Regions from separate parts of the Homo sapiens genome. Here all the other regions are linked to region 2. The links are contacts of gene promoters, found by promoter capture Hi-C in blood cells and fetal thymus (Javierre and others, 2016). All regions are on one chromosome and are shown on one strand. The core of a region is centred on a gene start or on the middle of the fragment in contact, and the rest is flanking DNA. Distances in the headings are between cores, read along the strand shown.

Region 1 (3,914 bases), core at 1,162-3,661, 390 kb before region 2:
CTCAGGAGGCTGAGGCGGGAAGATCACTGGAGCCCGGGAAGTCGAGGCTGCAATAAGCCATGATCACACCGCTGCACTCCAGCCTGGGTGACAGAGTGAGACTCTGTTTCAAAAACAAAACAAAACTAAAAATCCAGCAAGTTTGGAACCCACAGGATTTGTTTTCAATCCATCCCTGACCTTCCATGGCTTATTTTTCTCTACAGTTCCTCCCCTGCCTCTGTCTTCATCCCATCTTAAGGAATTTAGGGTAATTGTTTCGCACAAACATTGGCATGATAAGAAATATTTGGGAGAAATAAATCTGGCCCAAAAAAATTATGGTACATTACAAAGAAAAGGTTTTGTATATCCCAGGGTCCCTGACTGTTGGGGCTTTGACCCTGGGCAGCACCACCAAGGAGTGGGAAGGCACCTCACTTTTGGCCTCTCGGGTCTAATTCCTCACTTTGGAACCATGGGCAGGAGATCTTGCCTCTCTGTGCCTCAGTTTCCTCATCTGTCACCCACCTTACGTGGTCCAGGAAAGATGAAAGGAGAACAGAAATGGGAGGCAAATTCAGCTCCAAAAGCCTTGGAAACCCCAAGCCGCAGCAAGGCTTCCTGGGTGTCCACTTGACCCACATCCACCCTTCTTTCCTCTTCCAATCCCCGTGCCGAGGTAGTTCTCTCCCTACACCCTGCACCTCACCTCTATGGCTGTGCCAGGCTCTGCTCCTCTCCACCCTCACCCCTAATGATCCAGCTCAAAGGCCTGCTGTGGCTGAGCCAGCAAAGGAGGGAGGGCGAGGGCATTATAAATACTCATGATTTAATGGCTTTTCCTTTAGCCCCATTACCTGCAGAAGGCACCTGGCCTAGAATGCATGGCGTTGATGAACTCAGGTCACCGTTTCTTTCCCTTGGCTTCATTTGGGCTGGTTCTTATGATGTCCTCAGGAGCCCTGGAACCAGCACTGCCCAGCCTCATCCTCACACCTCTCCCCATGCCCCAGCCAGGGAGGCACTCGCCTGTGTCAGGCCTGGTGGCCCTGTTCTTATGACCCCCCTAGGCTGCTCTGTCCCCATCAGGCTCCTCGTCCTTTCTTGCAACAGCCCTATATTCTTTCTCCCTTGAGAATTAGAAAGGCAGGTGTGTGTGGTGGGGCCAGGAGTTTGGCGGGGAGGGAAACGTGTCCAGAGAGGGCTTTGAGGCAGCTGTGGCTTTGCTTCCCCAGGCCTAGTCACTGGACCCAGCCCAGCTACCCTGCTACCCTACCCCCTTCAAGCTGTGAATCTTTGAGCAAAGTGCTTGATCCCCCTGTGCCTCAGTTTACTCATCTAAAAATGGGCACAATAGCACTTGCCTCATAGGGTGTAGTAAGGAGTGAGAGGAGGTAGGTAAAGCACTAGACAGGGATGCCTAGCTCTAGCCTAGTGGACTTGAACGAGTGGAATTTTAAATCTGCCCAACACAAGGTTACAGAGGGACTGTGGTCCCTGGAATCGTTTGTTTCCCCACTACTGCTTCCTCCTCCCACCTAACCCCAGTCCACAGAAGTGCACGTGGTGGTGGAGCATCTTTTAAAATTCCAATGGAAACATTGCTTTACCCTCTCCTGAAAGACGAAGCTGCAGGTGAAGAAGAAACGAAAACTGCTTTTAGGCCCAGCTGGCCCTGCAGGAGCTTTGGCGGGTAAGGGTGTCAGGCAGGGAGACTGTGCAGAGCCAGGCATCTGGATGTGGATTTGAGGTGTCCTTAGCCTTGGAAACCCCAGTGACTAGGCCCGGGGAAGAAACGCCATGGCTGCCAGCAAATGCTCTTTCAGACACACATTCCGCACACCTCCCCAGGACAAGAAGGGATGCTCCAGAAGCTTGTTAAATGATTTCCACCAATTTCAGAAATTGCCTCAGCTAGTTGTTTATATTTCCCATCAGCCTTAGATTAAGACAGAAAGAAAATGGGGCCCTGGCGTCAGGAAAGAAGGTGGCTTTGTCCAGGGAGGGACAGCTGCTGTGGCAGTTTCTGAAGAAAGTGGAAAGGCATGAATGGGCCCTGCCATGTGTTGGGTGGCCACAGGCATGAGCTCTCCTGGTCTCGGCTTTCCAAGGCCCGGGCCACGGTGGCCCACGAGGACACCCCTGCACCCCCACATGGCCTCACCCACCAATTGCCAATGTCCTCACCTTGAACCCACTCATCACAGGCTGATCCAGAAACTTGCTGAGTTTTGTTTTGTTGCAAACACTGATTTGCTTTGTTGTTTTTTTTACTTCACTGGGATGTAGGATGCCAGGTTAAGATGGACTGGTTTCTCCTGCCAGAAGCAGCTTTGAATTTAGGATGCCCAGAGGGTGCTGTCTTTTTCTTTTGACAGAGTCGTGGTCTGTTGCCCAGGCTGGTGTGCAGTAGTGCGATCTAGGCTCACTGCAACCTCTGCGATTCTCCTGCCTCAGCCTCTCAAGTAGCTGGGATTACAGGCGCCCACCACCATGCCCAGCTAATTTTTCTATTTTTACTAGAGACAGGGTTTTGCCCTGTTGGCCAGACTGGTCTCGAACTCCTGACCTCAGGTGATCCACTCGTCTCAGCCTCCCAAAGTGCTGGGATTACACATGTGAGCCACTGTGCCCAGCCTAGGGTGCTGTCCTGAACACTATTGATAAGGTGGAGTTTTCCTGGGAAGGGAAGAGTGTTCTGCCTACAGACTTGTGGACATCAGGGAGACACCAGATGTGTCTGGGCCCAGCGCTGATCCTTGGGGAAGGTGTGAGGCCATGGACATTTGGGGTGTGGGTCATATCTGAGTAGTGGGGATCCATCAGGCCTTCCTCTTCCTCCTTCTCATTGTCAAAGAGCCGTGACCTGAGTGTACCTGGTTCTGATCCGACAGCCCACTGCTAAAGGCCTCCCTCATTTCTATCAGCGTCTGTGGGACATTCCCTTCAACTGTGCAGGAGTCCTGGTTGCCTTTGAAGCTTGGAAATGATGTTTTACCACATCCCCACTGCCCACTGGGCCAGAGGACCTGCTGTTGATCCAGACAATCAACAGAGCTGGAGAGCCCGGAACTGTATTCCGATCCCAGCCCTGCCTTTTACTCCTTGTGAGATCTAGCAGGTAGCTTTGCCTTTTCTCCATCTGCAGAAGGTTCTAATAATCCCTGCTCACTCTTGCTCCAGGGCCATTGTGGGGCCAAGGAAAAGTTGGGGTTCAGCAGTTCTTTGGGGTGGAATGGAGAGTTGGAGAGCCAGTGGGCCTGTGCATACCAAGGCTGGAGCCTGGGTCCTGCAGGGGAGCTAGTCCAGCACAGAGGTCACGGTGGAGATTAAAATATTCCTTTTTTTGAAACAGGATCTGGAGCTGCTGCCTGGGCTGGAGTGCAGTGATGCAATCATAGCTTACTGCAGCCTCAATCTCCAGGGCTCAAGTGATCCTCTAGCCTCAGCCTCTGGAGTAGCTGGGACCACAGGCATGAGCCACCATACCCGACTAATTTTTTAAAAATTATTAGTAGAGATGGGGTCTCACTATGTTGCCCAGGCTAGTCTCACACTCTTGATCCTCCCACCTCGACCTCCTAAAGTACTGGGATTACAGGCGTGAGCCACTGTGCCTGGCCAAGTTTAAAATATTCTATACCATGTGTTATTTTTCCTGATAAGTGATTTTATCTCCTGATATTATGTATTTTATGTATTTCTTGCTATTTAATTACAAATTATCCTGAGGGCAACCAGTGCCCTGCAGAAAGTCACAGAAACACTGGGTCCATGTCCTGCCCGAGGCCAGTCCTGACTTTGCCCGTGGTACGCACCTGTGCCGTGCTCACACTGTCCTGCACAGCATCCTTTTTTACTATAATATGCCATTGCAGGTTATTCCCAGCACTTTCTATGTTGTAAACTGTTAAGTGAATATCCTGACACAG
Region 2 (3,958 bases), core at 32-2,531:
CAGAATTCAAGTGAGAAACCAATCTGGCTGCAATTTAGTTATGCCTATAAAATGTCCTAGGAAAATGGAGCTTTAATTGGAATCTTACAAAGTAATGCATATGTAAGTATAAAACAGCAAGAAATTGTAACTAGAAGGCTCTCTATGCAGAGATTAACATGCTGAACAAATTTAGAGACTTATCACCAAATCACTGCACTTTCTCACAGCTGCACTCCTGATGCCTAAGAGCTTGTGCCCATGGTCAGTCTATCCAATGCCATTTCCCAAAACCAAATCACATTAACCCAGACTTTCCCGCAAAGGAACAGGGCAAAATCAGTTTAGCAATGTGTTTGGTACAGCTCTCTCAAGCACTACACTTACCTTTTTTTGGATTTTATACCGCTTATGGCAGGTCATGCGTTTACTTGCTTTCTTTAACTCTACAAAGAAACACATCACAAATCTGTTAACCCAAATGATTAGTTCTGGGTTAACGCACTATGGAGTTATATCCTTTTCTTGTGTTATTGGCTACCAAACCTAACGTTAAGTCTAATGCGAAATGCCTAATGCAAACATACGTGCTACTTTCAAATCCCAGAGAATTAAATTCAGTAGATCCAGAATGGAGTCAAAATTCCCTGCACTTACCCTCACAATATTAGAATGGGATCATACACAACAGCGTATGAGACACAAAACGACAACCACTTCGTGTCAAACAGCACGAATCATAAGGCAGGAGAGGAACACTGAGTCTGGGAGGCGATTCTCAGCTCTCACCTGGGCCAGTCTGCACGTGGCCACGGAAAGAAAATATTGGGCCTCAAACCTGGCTCAGACGCTGCTTCCTTACGAAAATCTAGCCTAGTCTTCCCCACCCTCTGCCCGGCTTCGTTCCGCAGAATGAGCCCGCGCGGTTAACATGATCGCCGTAGGGACTTCCAACTCTCGGTTCTACCAGGAAATAGGGCCAAGGCCTACGCGTAGGCTCCCACCCCCATACCAGCAGAGACAAAGCCGTAGCCGTAGAAGAGCGTCGTGGTGGCTGCAGCAACTTCCAGACGTGGGTCCCTCCACGCCCGCCTCCCGACCCCACTTACTAGGCCTTTTCATATTGGCTGTAGAAGGAAGCACAAACACATCAACCTGCCTCCGCTGGCGCCACGTGTGAACTGAAGCCACTGACGAGCGTCACGCACTTACGCTGCCGCCGTAAAGTGCGTCACCGCCTCTCTGCGTGCGCGGGCACGCAGTGTCGCGCGGAGCAGGGATCGCTTGGCGGCCGCGGGACTGGTTTTGCGGCGGCACCGGGAGGGGTAAGGGAGGTGAGGGCGGCGGGTGCCGAAGCGACGGCAGCGGCCGCGGCCGGAGGAGCAATAGCAGCAGCCGTGGCGGCCACGGGGCGGGGCGCGGCGGTCGGTGACCGCGGCCGGGGCTGCAGGCGGCGGAGCGGCTGGGTAAGGCCGGGCCCAGGGCGGGTGGGGCCGCTCCCCCTTGGTCAGCTGCCGGGCCTTTGTGTGGGCCCGGGCGGGCGGGAGCCGCGGCGGAAGCCCCGCCCCGGCCGTGGGGACGCGCGGGTCGGGCCGGGCGCGCGGGGTTGGGCGGGGCGCGGCGGCTGGCCTCCGGATGGGCCCAGTAGCCTTGTCGCACCTGCCGGCAGGGACAAAGGCGCACTACGGGTCGGAAACTCCCCGCGCTCCTCTTTCCCGCTCGTCGCGGGGCAGCTTCAAAGCTGTCAACGTTTCCCTCAGTCCCCAATACCAGTGACAGGTCGGGAAAGTCCTTCATTTCCTCCGTTGCTCAGGGCCTCTTTTTTTTGTTGTGGTTTCTTGACGGTTCGACACAAACTCTTAGTGATTTTCTTTCCGTATTTTTTCCGGGTATTTTAATCAATGGGACTTGTATTTATAGTAGAGGCCAGATATTTCAGCTTCTCAACACCACAAAGAATCCGGGATTTTGGGAACTGTGTATATTTCTTGGTTTGGGGAAGCACAGTTTTGTTATTATAATAAGTTTTAATTTAAAGGGGAAGAAAGAGTTGCAAAAATATAGAAAAAGCCCTGAAAAATAAGTACACGGTATAGTGGATATAGAAATTCTTACAATAATTATAGAAGCGTATGTTGGGGTGAATTGTTTTAATTAACTTACTTTCCAACACAGGATTCTTGACAAATAATTTTAGGTATTATTTTTTTCTCCATTTGGCTATGTGCTTTTCCCCAAAAAGTGCAAATTGGACTCATGCACATAAAAGAGTAGCATAATTTTTGCTTTATTACTTACAGGTCGCCCATATTTGATTTTGAGCTCCAAAATGGAAGATTGGAAAATATGTTTTGAAGAGGTGTTTCAAATTAAAACAATAAAGAGTTTATGTGTGGATGAATGGAAGGGCCTTGACCGCTTTCTTTGGCTTTGGGAATGTACAAAATACCTCAAATGTTAATATCCTACCAAAATTCCCAAGATAAGTAAATTGTGGTGTATCTATATGATAGATTACTATCAAGTCATCAAACATCATGAGGAAGAATGTTGACTTGGAAGAACCTTCACTAAAACACAGGCTGTAGAATAATATATGTGGTTTGTTAACATTTTGGTAAAAAATAATAGGTAACTAAGGCATAAATACCAAAAACCGAATGACAACGTTAAGAGTGGTTTTTTTCTTGGAAGTAGGTTTATAGGTGTTTTTTTTCCTTTGAGTCCTGTTTTCCAAGATTTTGTTTTAAACATGTATTGTATTGCTAAATATTACTAGAAATATAGGAGAGGGCTAAAGTTCATAAACGGTCGAAATACACTGTTTGTCTATAGTAAGTCGATATTCTCCCAGTTGCACATTATTAAGTATTCTTAACTGTCCACTATAAATTATTGATTGTTAGACTTTTGAACTTGTAACTGTAATCAAGGCCATTTTAAAACTTGGCATTGAACTCTGGAATCTGTCTTTCCTCTTCATGGAAAGACAAAATTGCTGAAGGGATGCTTACAGGCATTTTTTTTTTTTTTTTTTTTTTTTTTTTGAGACAAGGTCTGACTTTGTTGCCCAGGCTGGAGTTCAGTAAAGTGATCATGGCTCACTGAAGCCTTGTGCTCCTAGGCTCAAGCAGTCCTCTCACCTCAGCATCCCAAGTAGCTGGGATTACTGATGTGCAGCACCACACCCAGCTAATTTTAATTTTTGTAGAGAAAAGATCAATCTATGTTATCCAGTCTGGTCTTGAACTCTCTGCCTCAAGCGGTCATCCTGCCTCAGCCTCTCCAAGTGCTGGGACTACAGATATGAGCCCCTGTGCCTGGCTGAGGACTTTTAAACTATACAAATAAACTTTTTTTTTTGAAGGTCTCAAGTGCACTTTTTTTTTGTTTTTTTTGGAGACAGTCTTACTCTGTCCCCCAGCCTGGAGTGCAGTGGCGCAATCCCAGCTCACTGCAATCTCTGCCTCTCTGGTTCAAGCAATTCTCGTGCCTCACCCTCTCGAGTGCCTGGGATTACAGGTGCATGCCACCACCTTGCCTAGATAATTTTTTGTATTTTTGATAGAGACGGGGTTTCACCGTGTTGGCCAGGCTGGTCTTGAACTCCTGACCTCAGGTGATCTGCCCACCTCAGCCTCCTAAATTGCTGGGATTACAGGCATGAGCCACTGTGCCTGGCCCTAAGTGCACTTTTAATACATTTATTAAAAGATAAACTGAGCACATAACCTATACCAAATACTATCCTGTAAGACAGGTCTACAAAAATGAATATGCTGTTCCTGTGCCTGGGGAACATGCAGAAGTGATTTCACTTTATGTTGTTTTTTTTTTTTTCTTGAGACGGTCTCGCTCTGTCACCCAGACTGGAGTGCAGTGGTATGATCTCGGCTTGCTGCAACCTCTGCCTCCTGGGTTCAAGCAATTCTCATGCTTCAGCCTCCCAAGTAACTGGGTTTACAGGCATGCACTGCCT
Region 3 (4,107 bases), core at 672-3,171, 490 kb after region 2:
ACTCTGGGAGGCTGAGGCAGGTGGATCATTTGAGGTCAGGAGTTTGAGACCAGCCGGACCAACAAGGTGAAACCCTACTAAAAGTACAAAAATTATCTGGGCGTGGTGGTGCATGCCTGTAATTCCAGATACTTGGAAGGCTGAGGCAGGAGAATCACTTGAACCTGGGAGGTGGAGGTTGCAGTAAGCCGAGACTGCATCACTGCACTCCAACCTGGGCGACAGAGCAAGACTCAGTCTCAAAAAAGAAAAATTAAATAAATAAAAAGCCGAAGGCCAAATGTTTAATGAGGGAAATTAGAAGGCTAAATGTTTAATGAGGGAAATTAGAACATTCCAATTTAATATTTATGTGAACGAGGCACTGAGGAAACACTAAAACCCCTATAGACACTAACGTGCAATCCAAAAACCTGTAATGTGCAACACTGGCCACTGTTTCACCTTTAAAGATGGAAAAGCTAAAAGTGCCTACCCTTGGGGGGACAATCATATGAGATAATCTGTGCTCAGAGCCCAGCCTGCACATAGCAGCCCTCTGTGAGTGAGTGTGACCCTCACCACCACTGTGGGGACTGCTTCTAGTCTACCAATGAGCACAAACACCCATACCTGCTCCTTCATTGTCAATGACACTTACTCTCACTGGCCGGAGGGGTTTCTTTGATCTGTTGGTAGTGTACTGCTGCAGTGGACAATGCCCGAGGGGCTGGCTTGGCCCCAACTTCCATCATCTTGGGGCAGTTTTGGGCATAGAACAACAGAGATTTGCCTGCTTTCTGCAGAAAGGCCTGGGGGACTCGGGATAAGAATGGGCAGCGGCGAACAACACTCTCCATGTTCAGGAAGTATGCTGGCTCCTGTGGAAAGACTGATGAAGAGTGACATCAACAGTTGTTAATAATCAGGCAAATATCACTGCAAGCTCACTGGATTCAGGTGTCAACCGCAGTTTATATAAAGGGTACCCTGGAATACTAACACTTCTCCCTCAAAAATGCCTAAGGACAGCACTGATGTGAGCTAAGGAATGGTGACCACACTTTACCCGGGTCACCAACTTCTTCATTCTCCAGCGCTACACAAAGGCACCTGCAAAGCAACTTCACCAAATGAATACTGACAGTACATAATCAAGGGGGCGGAAGGATGAGGGAAAGGTCAAGAACAGGTTTGGGAGGCCAGAGGTTTCTTAGGGAGATGCACAGTGCAGATAAGACATCTTGGCTTACATCTAGGTGGAGAAGAAGCCACTCATCCATCCAGGCAGGGAAGACTCTTAGGGATCCTGACTTTCTCCTGGTCCCCACATCCCCTAAACCCGAGGAAGGGGTCCAGCAGGGTCCCGAGTCCCTGAAGCAAGGATTCCTCCGTGGTCGTGTCCCCACAGCGGGAAGAACTGGGCATAACTGAGAAAGGAGGGGCACAAATGAGGGTAGGGGTATGAGGGCCAGCGCCTTGGGCCTCACTGGGGACGCGCAGGGGCTTATAAAGTCGAGGGAGTTGAGTCTGGAGAAAGAAGGCAGTCCTCCGGCAGTGGGGGTCAGAGGTGACCCGCGGTCGAGGTCTCGAGAATGACGGGAGGGGTATGAGAAGGGAATTCTAAAGCGGCGGGTTCAACCGGGAATAGCCGGAAGGGGCCGAAAGGGGGAAACTGAGGCGGCCGTCTAGGCAAAAGATCTGGAGGATAAACGCTGACCTCAAGGCGGCGGGTGACTGGGACAGTGGGGGATGGGGTCCCAGCACCCGGGGCAGCGGTGCCACGGCTGGCAGGACACCCCGGGGCTTCCTCGGCCGGCGCCGCACCTACCGCGCGGGCCCTCACCTGCGCTGAGGACTGCAGAGGCGGCGGCGAAGGAGGCGGGCACTCAAGTCGAGAAGTCCAAACGAAACGCTCGTTGCCCTTGTCCGGGAGCAGCCTCAGGCCGCGATCGCCGGCGCCTTAATATACAGCGGGAGTGACCGCTGCGCATGCGCCTTGGGCGCTGCCTTCTTCTGCGCAGGCGCGCCGCGTAGCCCTCGGCGAGCCGGGGGGGCGGGGCAGAGAGGCCCACTTCTTGGGCTCTGCGGATATCGGTGCTGCCGGGGATTCCCCGGCTCGCCTGCAGGGAGGAGGAAGCGCTAGGCGGTGGGCGGACGAGGTCTCTTTTCCCGACCTCATCCTGCACCCTCGTGCTGCCTCCCCACCAACTACCCTGGGCTTCAGAACCCTACGCCCCAATTGAGTATAAAATGGCAAGGTCGAGGCGAGGTGCCGCTAGGGCCAAGTTGGGGGCTACAGGGTTGTTAAGCTGGGTGTCTTGGACATGGAGGAAGAAGGAGATCCAAGGGGTTCTGGGCCGGGGTGTTAAGCAGGATCCATCCCGCCTGCGGCTTGCTTTGGAAACTGTGAACAAGGGCTTCCCGGAGGAGGTGGAGCTGGCTATATCGCCCACAAATGGAGTGGTCCTGGCAGGATGCGGAAGAAGCGGGACACTCAGCTGTGGCACTTTCTGGTCTAAGATGATCCAGAGGGGACAGAGGAACAGGGCTAGGGTGGAACCCATCCACTCCACAGCTCTGAGCACTTGGGGAGGAGGGGAAGGCACAGGGCCTGACAATAGTTAGCGTGTAACAAATATTAGCCACTATTTTTATTTTCCATCCAGGGTTGTCTGAAGCCCCTTGCTGGCCACCCTGGGCACCAGCAGGGTGGCTTAGGCCTCCATGCCAAAGGTCAGCGTTGGGCCATACCTCCATTGAGTTTCCCGGGTACAACACATAAAGTGTAGGGCTTGGCAAACCCGTCTCAGGAATGTCAGTCTGGCTTCCTTGCCCCACACCCTTCCCAGCTTGGCTTGGGCTGTGTTGGGCTGGGCCTGTGCCAGGCTCAGAGGTACTCTCCTCCATTCTTGAGGAAAGGGCCTTTGAGGGTATTCCTTTCCCAGCTGAGCATTAACAAGAGGGACAAAGTCCAGAATGATGGTGACCAGGGTGTGTCCAGGTACTTTGCATTTCTGTCTCTGAGCACCCAGCTGGCTGCAAGGCAGGTGAGGTGAGTCTCCACCTTCAGAGGAGGCACCTGGGTTCAGAGTGGCAGTGGGACCAGTCCAGGATGAGGGCTTTGGTCTGAGAGCTCGAGACCCAGTTCTGTGCCATTCAGCCAAGAGATCCTGGGCAGTGCCCATCACCCAGAGAAGATGAGAGAGAAAAGGTCAGCACTTGGACTTGGACCCAAGTGCAGCTGGAAGTGGGAACAGAATAAGGATGATATTGAGTGCTTTGCTCATCTTTGGGCCTTGCTTTCCTTATCTGGGCAATAGGATCATAATCCCTGAAATGCCTGCCTCACAGGTTGTTTTTGTTGTTGTTGTTATTTTGTTTGTTTGTTTGAGACAGAGTCTCCCTCTGTTGCCCAGGCCGGAGTGCAGTGGCACAATCTCGGCTCACTGCAACCTCTGCCTCCCAGGTTCAAGCGATTCTTCTGCCTCAGCCTCCTGAGCAGCTGGGATTACACCACCACGCCCAGCTAATTTTTGTATTTTTAGTAGAGATGGGGTTTCACCATGATGGCCAGGCTGGTCTTGAACTCCTGACCTCAAGTGATCACCCTCAGCTTCCCAAAGTTCTGGGATTATAGGCTTGAGCCACTGCGCCTGGCCCTCATAGGGTTTTTTTGGGGGTGATCAGAGCCAAAGCCAAAGCAGAAAGAACTGGATAGTGGAGTTGGGCATGGGTTTCAAACCCAGCTCTGAATCTTACTTGGCCATAGACTTGGGCAGGCCACAACCTCTTCAAGGCTTGGTTTCCTGATTTGTAAAGCTCTCCCGCCCTGCCACTTGTGGCTGGCAGGAGGGTCAGGTGAAGTCCTGTATTTCAGAGGCTTATTGTTTAAACCAGCCAGTCCCTAGCCCTCTGGGAGTTTCCTGTTTAATATAGAGAAAGATTGGGAAACAAGGCCGACTCACATGGAAAGTGAAATAGAGTGTTGTAAGCAACTCCAGATGGAGGAAGAGGAGGAGGCTATTACTCCAACAGGCGCTGAAAGAGGAGGATCCCAACCACGAGGAAGGCTTCCAGAAGAGAAGCGGGTGCTGGTTGGAAGGGTGGATCTACATGCGACTGGGA

The links. Contacts are between HindIII fragments. The CHiCAGO score rates a contact against its expected background, and 5 or more counts as called.
Region 1: a contact is called between a fragment that was not itself captured here and the fragment with the promoter of PBRM1 in region 2, in 1 of 17 cell types (naive CD8 T cells). The highest score is 6.9, in naive CD8 T cells.
Region 3: the fragment with the promoter of ALAS1 here is called in contact with the fragment with the promoter of PBRM1 in region 2 in 5 of 17 cell types (activated CD4 T cells, neutrophils, total B cells and 2 more); the score reaches 9.7 in activated CD4 T cells.

What each region holds. Positions count from the first base shown.
Region 1 is chr3:53,078,158-53,082,071 of GRCh38, reverse strand. It overlaps a transcript of RFT1 not described here. Among named protein-coding and RNA genes, the nearest start is that of SFMBT1, 34 kb to the right of the region's middle. The HindIII fragment of the contact is 1,105 bases long and covers 1,859-2,963 here.
Region 2 is chr3:52,683,236-52,687,193 of GRCh38, reverse strand. PBRM1 (polybromo 1) reads left to right here and starts at 1,281. Exons shown (of 32, transcript NM_001405607.1): 1 at 1,281-1,445. GNL3 (G protein nucleolar 3) reads right to left here and starts at 1,162. Exons shown (of 15, transcript NM_014366.5): 1 at 1,089-1,162; 2 at 367-425. The coding sequence starts at 1,101. RefSeq lists enhancers at 935-1,004, 999-1,687 and silencers at 1,325-1,474, 1,545-1,694. The HindIII fragment of the contact is 13,677 bases long and covers 1-3,958 here.
Region 3 is chr3:52,195,974-52,200,080 of GRCh38, reverse strand. It overlaps ALAS1 (5'-aminolevulinate synthase 1), which reads right to left and starts at 1,921. Exons shown (of 12, transcript NM_000688.6): 1 at 1,826-1,921; 2 at 1,233-1,409; 3 at 641-871. The coding sequence starts at 839. RefSeq lists silencers at 1,680-1,759, 1,870-1,939 and enhancers at 2,080-2,299, 2,310-2,379. The HindIII fragment of the contact is 12,746 bases long and covers 1-4,107 here.